4 separate regions of the Homo sapiens genome follow, and all the other regions are linked to region 1. The links are contacts of gene promoters, found by promoter capture Hi-C in blood cells and fetal thymus (Javierre and others, 2016). All regions are on one chromosome and are shown on one strand. Each heading gives the region's core, a stretch centred on a gene start or on the middle of the fragment in contact. The rest is flanking DNA. Distances are from core to core; before and after follow the strand shown.

The links. Contacts are between HindIII fragments. The CHiCAGO score rates a contact against its expected background, and 5 or more counts as called.
Region 2: a fragment that was not itself captured here is called in contact with the fragment with the promoter of RAMP3 in region 1 in 10 of 17 cell types (non-activated CD4 T cells, M2 macrophages, naive CD8 T cells and 7 more); the score reaches 8.7 in non-activated CD4 T cells.
Region 3: a contact is called between a fragment that was not itself captured here and the fragment with the promoter of RAMP3 in region 1, in 4 of 17 cell types (endothelial precursors, M0 macrophages, naive CD4 T cells and 1 more). The highest score is 6.9, in endothelial precursors.
Region 4: the fragment with the promoter of SNHG15 here is called in contact with the fragment with the promoter of RAMP3 in region 1 in 4 of 17 cell types (erythroblasts, endothelial precursors, total CD4 T cells and 1 more); the score reaches 9.1 in erythroblasts.

What each region holds. Positions count from the first base shown.
Region 1 is chr7:45,156,421-45,159,086 of GRCh38, forward strand. RAMP3 (receptor activity modifying protein 3) reads left to right here and starts at 1,371. Exons shown (of 3, transcript NM_005856.3): 1 at 1,371-1,466. The coding sequence starts at 1,409. The HindIII fragment of the contact is 23,160 bases long and covers 1-2,100 here.
Region 2 is chr7:44,924,323-44,926,988 of GRCh38, forward strand. No RefSeq gene overlaps it. Among named protein-coding and RNA genes, the nearest start is that of PURB, 40 kb to the left of the region's middle. The HindIII fragment of the contact is 4,333 bases long and covers 1-2,666 here.
Region 3 is chr7:44,963,320-44,965,985 of GRCh38, forward strand. MYO1G (myosin IG) reads right to left here. Exons shown (of 22, transcript NM_033054.3): 17 at 2,318-2,541; 18 at 1,626-1,770; 19 at 1,096-1,200; 20 at 730-843. Among named protein-coding and RNA genes, the nearest start is that of MYO1G, 14 kb to the right of the region's middle. The HindIII fragment of the contact is 2,717 bases long and covers 1-2,666 here.
Region 4 is chr7:44,985,377-44,988,042 of GRCh38, forward strand. SNHG15 (small nucleolar RNA host gene 15) reads right to left here and starts at 1,320. Exons shown (of 3, transcript NR_152597.1): 1 at 1,149-1,320. It overlaps SNORA9 (small nucleolar RNA, H/ACA box 9), which reads right to left and starts at 134; the gene lies at 2-134. RefSeq lists enhancers at 419-1,165, 1,011-1,130, 1,166-1,913. The HindIII fragment of the contact is 12,531 bases long and covers 1-2,666 here.

The sequences.
Region 1 (2,666 bases), core at 121-2,620:
CTTCAGTAAAAAAGCACAGAAAGTTCTTCTCCCGAATAAGGGTCTTGTTAAATAAAGTGGGTCTTTCTAAGCCAGGAGAAGTTCAGCTCAGCTCCTGGGAAGGTAGCAGTACCTACGGCTCAGAGGAGTGGAGGGCCCATCCATGTAGGAGCCTGGGCCTGTGCCCCAACCTCAGACCAGCATGTGCCCCCAGGGGTGGTGGGTGGGCCCTGGAGGGCAGAGAGGTGCCTCTAGCTGGCTCTCGGAAGTCCTGACCAGTGACAATTCTTAAGACACCATTAAGTGTCCACTGGAGCCAGGGCCTGTGCTAGGGGCTGAGGGTGACAGAGGTGACCCATCTGGCCAAGTGACCTGTGGCTGGAGAAACTGAGGCCCTCCTTCGCCTCAGGGACCCTGACACTCTTCAAGGCCAGGTCTTTGGTGGTGCCAGATACTCTCCTGTCCCTTGGTTTGCTTGTGGCTTGGTTCTTGGTGTGTGATACGTCTCTGTGTGTGTAGTTGCCACACCCTCCAGTCTCTCTCATACACACTGTTTCCCAAGCATACACTCACAAACACACCTTGTCTCAGACTCAAACACACACATGCCACACACACACCATACATCACACACTCCATGCACACACATGCATCTACACACACCCCACATGCACATCACACACACGTACTCCATGAACAACACACACACGCACACACACAGACGCACACACACACACCCCCCAACCTCTTTTATGCACTTTCCTGACCTTTGGAGACCTGGCTCCTAGATGTATCTCTGCTCAAAGTTCCCCTCCCTGCCTGGGGGCAGCTCTGGACTCTGGTCTACTTTCGGCCAGGGCACACCTAGCCCACTCCCAGGTCCACCTTCCTCCAGTCTACCCCCAGACTCCTCTAGGCCATCATCAGCCAGCGCTTCATCCTCACCTCAGCTCCCTCCCCGGTCTACCCCCACCCTCTGCCCCTGAGCCTGGACGGAAGTTCCCCAAGTCTCTCCAGCCTGCATCCCAGCCCACCGTCAGCCGGCCCCCACGCTCACCCCAGCTCACCTCCCAGTCTGCCCCTACAATCTGCTCCCAAAAAGCTCCTTTGCAGCTCAGCACCCCAGCCCCGCCCTCAGAGCCCATCAGCCGGCACCCCACCTTACCCCAGCTTGTCCCCAGCTCGAAACCCTGCCCTCGCCCCCCTCTCACCCCGCTGAGACTCCAGCCGCCCCCATCCCTCCCACCCGGCGCGCCTGCAGGGACTGCACCCCACATCTGGAGGCAACGGGGCACGGCCGCAGGCGTGGTCTGGGGGTGCGGCCTGAGGGCGGACCCCCTGAGGCCCCGCCCCACCCCAACCCCAACCGGGCGTCCCCCAGCCGCGCCCCCAGCGGGACCGAGCGTGACCCAGCTGCGGCCGGCCAGCCATGGAGACTGGAGCGCTGCGGCGCCCGCAACTTCTCCCGTTGCTGCTGCTGCTCTGCGGTAAGGGGGCGACGGCCCGCACCGGGGGCGCCCCCACTCCTCGGGGTTCACCGGACCCGGGTGGACCCGCGCCTTCCCGCACCTGCGCCGCGGTCCTTCCCTTGCCCCGGAGCTCGGGAGGGGCGCACAGTGACCCTGGCGGGATTCCCAGGCTCTGCGGGAGGGTTCCACCCGGGAGAAGCTGAAGGCGAAGGACTCTGGCGGGCAAGGGAGGCACAGGGCCCCCTCCGGGGTCTTCTGACGGCAGGGTCCGGCAGCCCCCGGTCCTTCTAGTTGTGATGTCCCCCCACGCCCCGGTTCTGGGGTCGCCTCAGGGTGGGCGAGAAGAGGTGGACCAGGTCTGGCTCTTTACCCCTTATCCCCCAGGGTGGGCTGTCTGTAAGGTAGTGAGCTCTCTGTCCTGGCATTGAGTGCCTGCCCACCACTCACAGGGGCGTGGGCGGGTGGACTCCGGACTGGGTAGCTGGTCCTCCCAGGGCCCCTCAGTGTGTGGACGCCTGTGTGTGTCCTGGAACTGGCTGAGAGGGGAAGCGGGGCGACTCTCTGAGCCATCCTCTCCTAATGCCTTCTTCGGCAAGAAATCAGGACTCTAGGAAGAACCATTGCTCACAAAATGGAAATAGATTAAACTAAAAGCTTGTTTTGAAGTACCTTGCTAAAGAAATTATCCAAGAAAAAGTAAGAGAGAGAGAGAGAGAGAGAATGTGTGTAAAGGCTGTTGGGGAAGAGTGCTTGCTGAGGGCTGGGGTCCACTGAGTGGTGACTGAGCCTGGCCAGTTCTGGGGGGGACATTGGTGATGGAGGGCCCTGGCCTGGTGGTCCCCAGTTTCCCTGGCTGTAAGATGCAGAGTTGGGCCTGTTTTGATGATTTGGGATTTGGTACGGGAGGTGGGAAAAGGGTGGACCAAACTCAGTGGTCATTTTCCTTCCATTGAAGAGGTCTTGGTGTGCAGAACTTGTGTGGCTTCATTTGGTGTTCCAGGGCTGGAGCCTAGGATGTGGTGGATTTTGTGTTGAAGTGCAAAGGTGGATGGCAGCTTCTGAAATCAGGAGCATGCTGATTTGGGATTTCAGCAAACTTCCAGTGAGCGCCCCTTAGGTGGAGATCTTGGTCGCTATAGTGGAAGGAAGGTCCTCTCAATTCATTCTGGGAGAAGCTGAGGCTTTCCTGATCATCTCCAGTATCAAATTGAGAAGGAC
Region 2 (2,666 bases), core at 120-2,619, 230 kb before region 1:
CAGTGTTGACACAGGCCGTGTGCTGCTGCCTGCCAGGTACCAAGCTGAGAACTGTGGACACGGGAAAGGGGTTGAGGGATGCCGTATTGTCTAGGACTGGAGCTGGCACCTTGCTGGTCCCTTTATACACTGGTTATCTTAATTTTCACACACAAATGTTGTTATTCATGTGGTCTGGTGGAGGGAACTTAAGTGTATGGTCTTATAAACTGTAAAAGGGGTGGGGCGCTGTGGCTCATGCCTGTAGTCCCAGCACTTTGGGAGGCCGAGATGGGCGGATTACTTGAGGTCAGGAGTTTGAAACCAGCCTGGGCAACATGGTGAAACCCTGTCTCTACTAAAAATACAAAAAAATTAGCCGCACATGGTGGTGCATGCCTGTAATCCCAGCTACTTGGGAGGCTGAGGCAGGAGAATCACTTGAACCTGGGAGGCGGAGGTTGCAGTGAGCCGAGATCGCGCCATTGCATTCCAGCCTAGGCAGCAAGAGCGAAACTCCGTCTCAAAACAACAACAACAACAAAACAACAACAACAACAACAACAACAAAAACTGTAAGAGGATACCCAGATGGCCAACATGCCTGAAAAGGTGCTCAATCTCATCAGTGATCAGGCAGAAGCAAATAAAAACACAAGGCGGGGTGCAGTGGCTCACACCTGTAATCCCAGCACTTTGGGAGGCTGAGGCAGGAAGATCGCTTGAGCCCAGGAGTTCAAGACCAGCCTGGACTAAATAGTGAGACCCCATCTCTAAAAAATATTTAAAAATTAGCTGGACATGGGGGCACACACCTGTAGTTCCAGATACTTGGGAGGCTAAGGTGTGAGGATTGTTTGAGCCCAGAAGATGGAGGCTGCAGTGAGCCGTGATTGCACCCCTTGCACTCCAGCCTGGGTGACAGAGTGAGACCCTGTTTCAAACACACACACACACACACACACACACACACACACACACACACACACACACACACACTAAGATACCAGTACAGACCCATAGACCCATCAAATGAAAAAGACTGACAATACCAGGAGTAACATCCCCGCTGCTGATGGGAATCTAAATTGGTGCAGCCACTTTGCAAGTAGTTTGGCAGGATCTTTTTTTTTTTTTTTTGAAATGGAGTTTTGCTCTTGTAGCTCATGCTGGAGTGTAACGGCGCAATCTCGGCTCACTGCAGCCTCCGCCTCCCGACATCAAGCAATTCTCCTGCCTCAGCCTCCCGAGTAGCTGGGATTACAGGCGCCCACCACCATGCCTGGCTAATTTTTTATATTTTTAGTAGAGACGGGGGTTTCGCCATGTTGGCCAGGCTGGTCTTGAACTCCTGGCCTCAGGTGATCTGCCCGCCTCGGCCTCCCAAAGTGCTGGGATTACAGATGTGAGCCACTGCACTGGCCAGCAGGATCTTTAGTAGATAAATATCCACACATGCTAGGACCTCACCACTCCACCCAAAAGAAACAAACGCTTATGTGATGTGCAGTAGCATTTACCAGAGCCCTAGACTGGAAATAGCCAAATGTCCATCAACAGGAGAAAAATGAAATAAAATAATGATGAAAACAAAAATGAAATAATGAAAAAAATGAAATAAAATAATCATGCAATGGAATACTATACTATGAAAATAGGCCAACTACTGCCATACATAGCAGCTATGATGTTTGTACCTAAATGATGTGTTTTCCAAATTTTATCATTAATATCACGATGAATACCTTTAAACATGTCTTTCCAGAATACTTCTAGAGAATGACTACAAAGTAAATTGCTAAAGAGTAGCTGATGAATCAGGCTATGGGAATTCTTGATTTTTATAGATGTTGTTCGTTACCTTCAGAAAAAGACTAAATCAATTTATACTCACACCAGCCATGCCTCAGAGAGTCTGCTTTCCCACACACCTGCCAATACAGAAGGTATATGTGTTTAAAATATACTTTGAAAACAAGTAATATTCCTTCACAGTTTCACCTGGATCCTCATTTACTTATGTCGCCTGTTCTCAATCATCTTTAGTGTATTAGTTAGGAAAATGCCACCTGCTATGACTGACTCTAGAAGGAATACTACCTCATCAGAACAGGAGTCCTTTTTTGCTCCTACAAAGAAAAGGTAAGGTTTCTGATGATTAGCACTGGCAAGATTTGCTCCAAGTGATCATTCAAGAACCTAGATGGAAATATATCACTGATTTCTGTTTCTCCATCTATAAAATGAGAGTAAGGATACCATGCCCTACCTTGTAGGGATAGAGTGATTGTCAGCTAAGGTCACACATTTGAATGTCTTAGTAACAGAGTGCAGACTCACCCATTCCCAGCTTCTAGGGTGGTAGGAAAGGGCCCATTCTCCATAAGTGGAAGATCTATTTCAGAGCGAGAAAGAAAAAGGTGCTGAAGCAGTGTCAGAGCACGGCAAACTATCCTTCCTCCTCTTGTTACCAAGCGGTCAATGGGCTTGCAGTCCCATGTGCATACAAGCCAATATCAAGGCCTTGGCTTTTGAGAAAAGGAGTTGGAGGCTAGGTAGGGTTTTATTAGCGTAAAGTAATGAAGTGTGATCTGACTGGATCTTGCAGTGAGGTGATGCCAGAAGGCATGGTCTGACTGGATCCTGCCATGGAGTGATACCACAACTCCATCTGATTGGATCCTGAA
Region 3 (2,666 bases), core at 96-2,595, 190 kb before region 1:
CGCTGCACAATACGATTTTCTCCAGGACTGATGGTTCTAGATCCTTGCTGTCCAACAGGGCCGCCACTGCTCACCTGTGGATGCTAAGCCCTTGCATGTGCTACTGCCTGGAGGAGCCGTTTTTAGTTCTAGGTCACTTTCACTGCATTTAAACAACCACGCCGGCTTTGGGCTGTGGCATTACACAGCAAGGCACTCACCGCCCTTTCTATTGGGACAGTCATGGGACCCCTGAAACTGTGGGAGACCCAGAGGTAGCCTGGCCTTGATCCCTACCCCCGTCTTGTGGGAAAGAGAATTTATGGGAACAGCAGCTGCTAATGAAGGGAGCAAGTAGGCCACAGAGCTCGGCAGAAGGTTCCGGAGTGGCCGGGACGGTATCCCACAGGAGGCCCAGAACATTGTGGTGGGTACTCAGGTCCCAGAATGCCCAGGTGGGAGAACCCCAGTTGGGCACAAGTTGGAAGAGGGGACCATTTGGCTTGGCTAGAGTGTGAGAGTGGGGGTGGGGGGTGACTGGGCTGGTGGGGATCACAGGATGGGACCTTTCACTCTGTGGGCGTGGGAAGCCACTGCAGGATTTTCAGCACGGGTGCCACCATCGCTGAGTTTTAGGATGGTCTGGGCCATCTCAGGTAAACAGGGGAGAGAAGACTGAGGCAGGACTCTGAGCAGCCCAGCAGTGCCCCTCACAGATGCTGCACCCTACTCCCCACCCACATTGCTCACCGCCTCAAGGGGCACGGCCCGCATCACCCGGTACTGCCGGTCAGGGTCCAGCTTGTAGAGGTGCTGGTCTGTGAGCAGGAGGGCCCGGTTCCGGATCTTGTGGAAGCGGTTCACCTGTGGGAGAGGTGGCTGGACCCAGGCTGGTGCTGCCCTGTCACCCACCAGGGCCCCAGGCTTCGGCAGTCCCTACTGCCTCCCCTCCCCGCTGGCGACAGTTTTGGGAGTGTCAGGAGCAGCTGGGCCTGGGCTGGGGTTGCCTCCATTTTCTCCCAAGTGCCCCCCCAAAACTCTGCACCAGCTTCTAACCTTGCAGACGTGGCTAGAAAAAGAGCACAGCCCTGAAGCCATCCTTGTCCCTTGTCTAACCTTGCGGACATGGCTTGAAAAGAGCACAGCCCCGAAGCCATCTTTGTCCTGAAGTGTCTTTAGTCGCTGAGCAAACAGGCTTGATGCTGTGGGATTGTCAGTGGCCTGAGGACAGATGGAGGGGAGGGGGCGCTGCTTGGGATTGAGTCATGGGACCAGACTCAATTGATAGCAGCTGTCTGTGAATCAGCATAGCTATCCTTCATCTCGGGAAACTGAGTCACACAGACTTGTGCGTGAGCTGAGCAGCCCTGGATTTCCTGAGGGCACAGAGCCCTCTTGTGTTGACTTCTAGGCTGCATCTGAGCCTGGCCCTCCTGTCATCCACACCCACCCCCGAAGGCCACTGCTCCTGAAGCCCAGGATGAGACCTTGCAGAGCTCTGGTGGGGGCTGAGGTACAGGGCCACCAGGACAGACAACCCCAGGCCTGGGAGAGGACATCTGAGGGGACCTGGTCACAGCATTAGCCGAGAGCCCTCTTTGGCAGCCCACTTCCCCCTGGCAGCCCTGGACTCGCCTGGCACTTACAGAGGACAGGTAGTCTCGGGCCCAGGCCCGTCGGCAGCCCCAGTCCTGACGAAGCCCTTGCAGGGCCCCCATGGCGGCCACCTTGGCCTTGATCTGGGGCATGTCTGAAGGGGGGATGTTCTTCACCAGCTGCCGGGCCCGCCACCTGGGAGAGGGCATGTAGTCAGACAGATGCTGGCCATGTGTTCATGTGCTCCCTGAGCCCCCTCTCCACAGAGGAAGCTGAGCCCTCAGCCTGGTGCTGCCTGCCTTTCATGTCCCAACCTCTGCCGGCCTCTCTGGCCTTGGCCCCTTGTGCCTAACGCTTGTTCCTGGAAGGTGACCCAGGGACCAGCAGTCGCCCAGTGTCCTCCTGTTCTGAGCATGCTCTGTGCCCCTCCTTCTGGAGAACTCCTACTCAGCCCTCAAGACCCCGCTCAGATGCAGAATCCCCTTACTTCCCAGCCCTAATGGGCCTCCCCCTGCAGGCTGCAGCCCTGGACCTTGAATGCCCACCACAGTACCCAAGATGGTCAGGGCTCTGCACCAACTGTGGGACATGAGCAGTCAGCTAATGTGGCATAGCATCCACCTTCCCACCTATCAAGGGGGCTGGTGTATCTCCCATCCAGGCACTGCAGGCCCGGGATGATGGGTTAAGGTATTCAGTGGATGCCAGCTGAATGGAATGTGTGGTGGGCTGAGAGTAGTACCTGCAGAAGAGTGCGTGGCAGGTGTCCTGGAAGGGCTGCAGCACAGCAGGGGGCAGCGGCCACACAAGGTCACGCCCGTAGAGTGGCGGCTGCCTTGCAGCCTGGAATCGCCGCTGCAGCTCAGCCAGGTGAGCCCGCACCTTGTGTCTCCGGAACCAGCGCATGATGGTGTAGATAGCCCTCAGCCTCCGGCAGCGCCACCTCGCCAAGGTGCCCCGCCATGCCTGGGTGGGCCAGGTGGGATGGGATACGCAGTCAAATTCAATCAGGCCCTAACCCTTAGACCCAAACCTGGCCCTGAGCATTTATTGAGCACTCCCTGGCCTGTCTCCATCAAGCAGAGACTCCT
Region 4 (2,666 bases), core at 70-2,569, 170 kb before region 1:
TCATTGTCTGAAATTTCTATAACCTTGCTCTGGATGGAGCAGGGCAAGGCCTCAAACCGTTTCAAAACTGTTCTAGCAAGCACTGAAGGAATGCATAGGGTCACCGCAGACCCAAGCACGCTGGAGGCTTGCTACCCTCATTCACCCAAATCCCCCACACTCAAGGAATCTGGCAGTCCACTCTCACTAAGCACCAGTCCCTGCTGGGGGCTGTGGGAAGAGACCAGAGTTCAATTAGGCACCTGAGCTTGGTTCCAGGAGCCCAGAGCTACTAATGACTCTCAGGGAAAGATCCTTTCTGGCTGAGGAAGAAGGGAAGGTGTCTTGGAAGAGATAACCTTATTAAATTATTAAATAGATCAGACAACACGAACTAAACTTCCACATTATTCTATGACACTACAATTCTAGCATGGCTTTTCACTGTGACCAGAAACATCCTTATCATCATGTAGTTAATATAAATACTGCCTTTTCCCCTTCATTTTTTTCTCATGTATCTTACGGCTCAGAAATCACTTCTGAAGGAGTAAGTAGACCAGGCACATGAAGTAGATTTCATTTTCCCCATGAAATAATGGTTCAGAGAAAACGCAGGCCTAGTTCCAGGAAGGCAGAGTTGGGGTCTCTGCAACGTGATTTACCGGGGCATCTTGCAAAGGAGTTGCTGTGACAGTAAGCTCTTCCACTTTGAGACCGTCACCTCAGCCACGGCTCCCACCTAGAAGGGAACAAATGCAGTTAGCTCCAAACGCAGTTAGCTTCAGCTTGTGCCTCTGAACCATTATCCAGCTCTAGCTCCTTGCAACGCCTGGCCCACTCTACAGCCTCTCTTGCGGCAGGTCTACACGCCACCCCATGCCTTCCGGTGAGGTCCCTCCTGACCACACGTCCCATCCCACCTACTGGGGTCCACCCAGGTCATGCAGAAGCCCCACTTCTCGGCTGAAAGAGAAGCACGAGGTTACTCATCAAGTAATCCCCGAGTCTCCTCCGGGTAAAATGTTCCGAACGCGCTCAACCGCCTCTTGAGAGGAAGTAGCACGTGTAGTGAAGGCTTGGTCTCCAAGAATCACTGGTGCCCCCACTCACTGCGGCCCAGCCTCCCACGCCGCCCGCCACTGAACCCAATCCCCCAGGACCCCTACCTGGGCTCAGGAATGGTCAGGCAACACGTGGGGCCCAGGATGGCGGTGGATGACTAGACTGCCGAAGACCGCGCCGCTGCGACTACGAAGTACGGAGTACGGAGTACAGGTCTGCCAGCCAAGACTGACGCCGCGCGCTGCGCCGCGCACCTCGACGTCACCGCGTAGTCCCGCCCCGAAGCCGTGCGTGGCCGGGGCCACAGCGTTTGGGGTAGATGACGTCACGCGGCCGCGGGCGCTCGCTTGGTAGGGTGTGCTGGGGCGTAGAGTTTAGGGTCCTGAGGCTGCGTCTGCGTGTCAACTCAGTGGAGTCTCTCGACCGCCCTTTGTTACCCTCCTTTAGTGACCAGAAGGCTGGAGTTACGTAATCTGCCCCTACAGCTAAAAGGACGGAGGCCTGACGGCGTGGCCTGGAGGGACGCGCTGAGCCCCTAATGGGTGGTGCCTTCCTGGTGCGGCCGCACAGGCGGGGCCGGGCGGAATCCAAGCACGATGTGGACACGGAGCCTTGGGAATGAACAGGAGCCTGCCTGTGGGAGCATGTGGGAAAGGTGATGCAGGTGGAAGGGCAAATACAAATTATACATAGGGTTTAATTTTCCCTGAGGAAAAGAAGGGACGAGAAACCATCCCCCTCCCTTTTTCTTTCAAAATTTCAGCCTCTCTCCTTTCCAAATGTACTCAAGTCTTTTTCTTATATGGCCAGGTTCAACTCAGGAATGTTTCTTGGGAGCCATCTCCTTGAAGTGTAATTGTTGGCTGGGTGCGGTGGCTCACGCCTGCAATCCCAGCACTTTGGGAGGCTGAGGCGGGCGGATCACAAGATCAAGAGATCGAGACCATCCTGGCCAACATGGTGAAACTCTGTCCCTACTAAAAATACAAAAATTAGCTGGGCATGGTGAAGCGTGCCTGTAGTACCAGCTACTCGGGAGGCTGAGGCAGGAGAATCGCTTGAACCCGGGAGGCGGAGGTTGCAGTGAGCCGACATAGCACCACTGCACTCCAGCCTGGAGACAGAGCGAGACTCTGTCTCAAAAACAAAGAAAGAAAAAAATGCAATTGTTAAGGGACGAAAGGGCCAAGAGTCCAGCTTCTTAGGAGGACAAAGGCTTAACTTGGCACCTGACTCCAAATTGCAAAACCTACATAATGTGATGGGCTATCTCTACTTAGCTGCATAGAAAAAGTGAGTTTCTGTCTTTGTGTTGCCTTTAGCAGGTTGCATGTGATGTACGGCATCACAATCTGGTTTAATACTTATTCAGTAATGGTTTTCTGTCTCTTCTACCTTTGTGGAGAGGTTTCATGGGTTGGGAGGAAACTACTCTCCACCCCCCACCCACCCCCAGGCAGAGGAAAGCACATTGAAAGGTCCTGAAATTGGGAAGGACATGGTTTGCTGGTGATACAGCTAAGTATTACAAGTTTGTAGTGTTCTGGAAGGGTCTCAATGAGGAGCGGGAGATAAGGACGATGTGTTCAAGGGTCTTGAATGATCAGGCTAGAAAAGTGAGA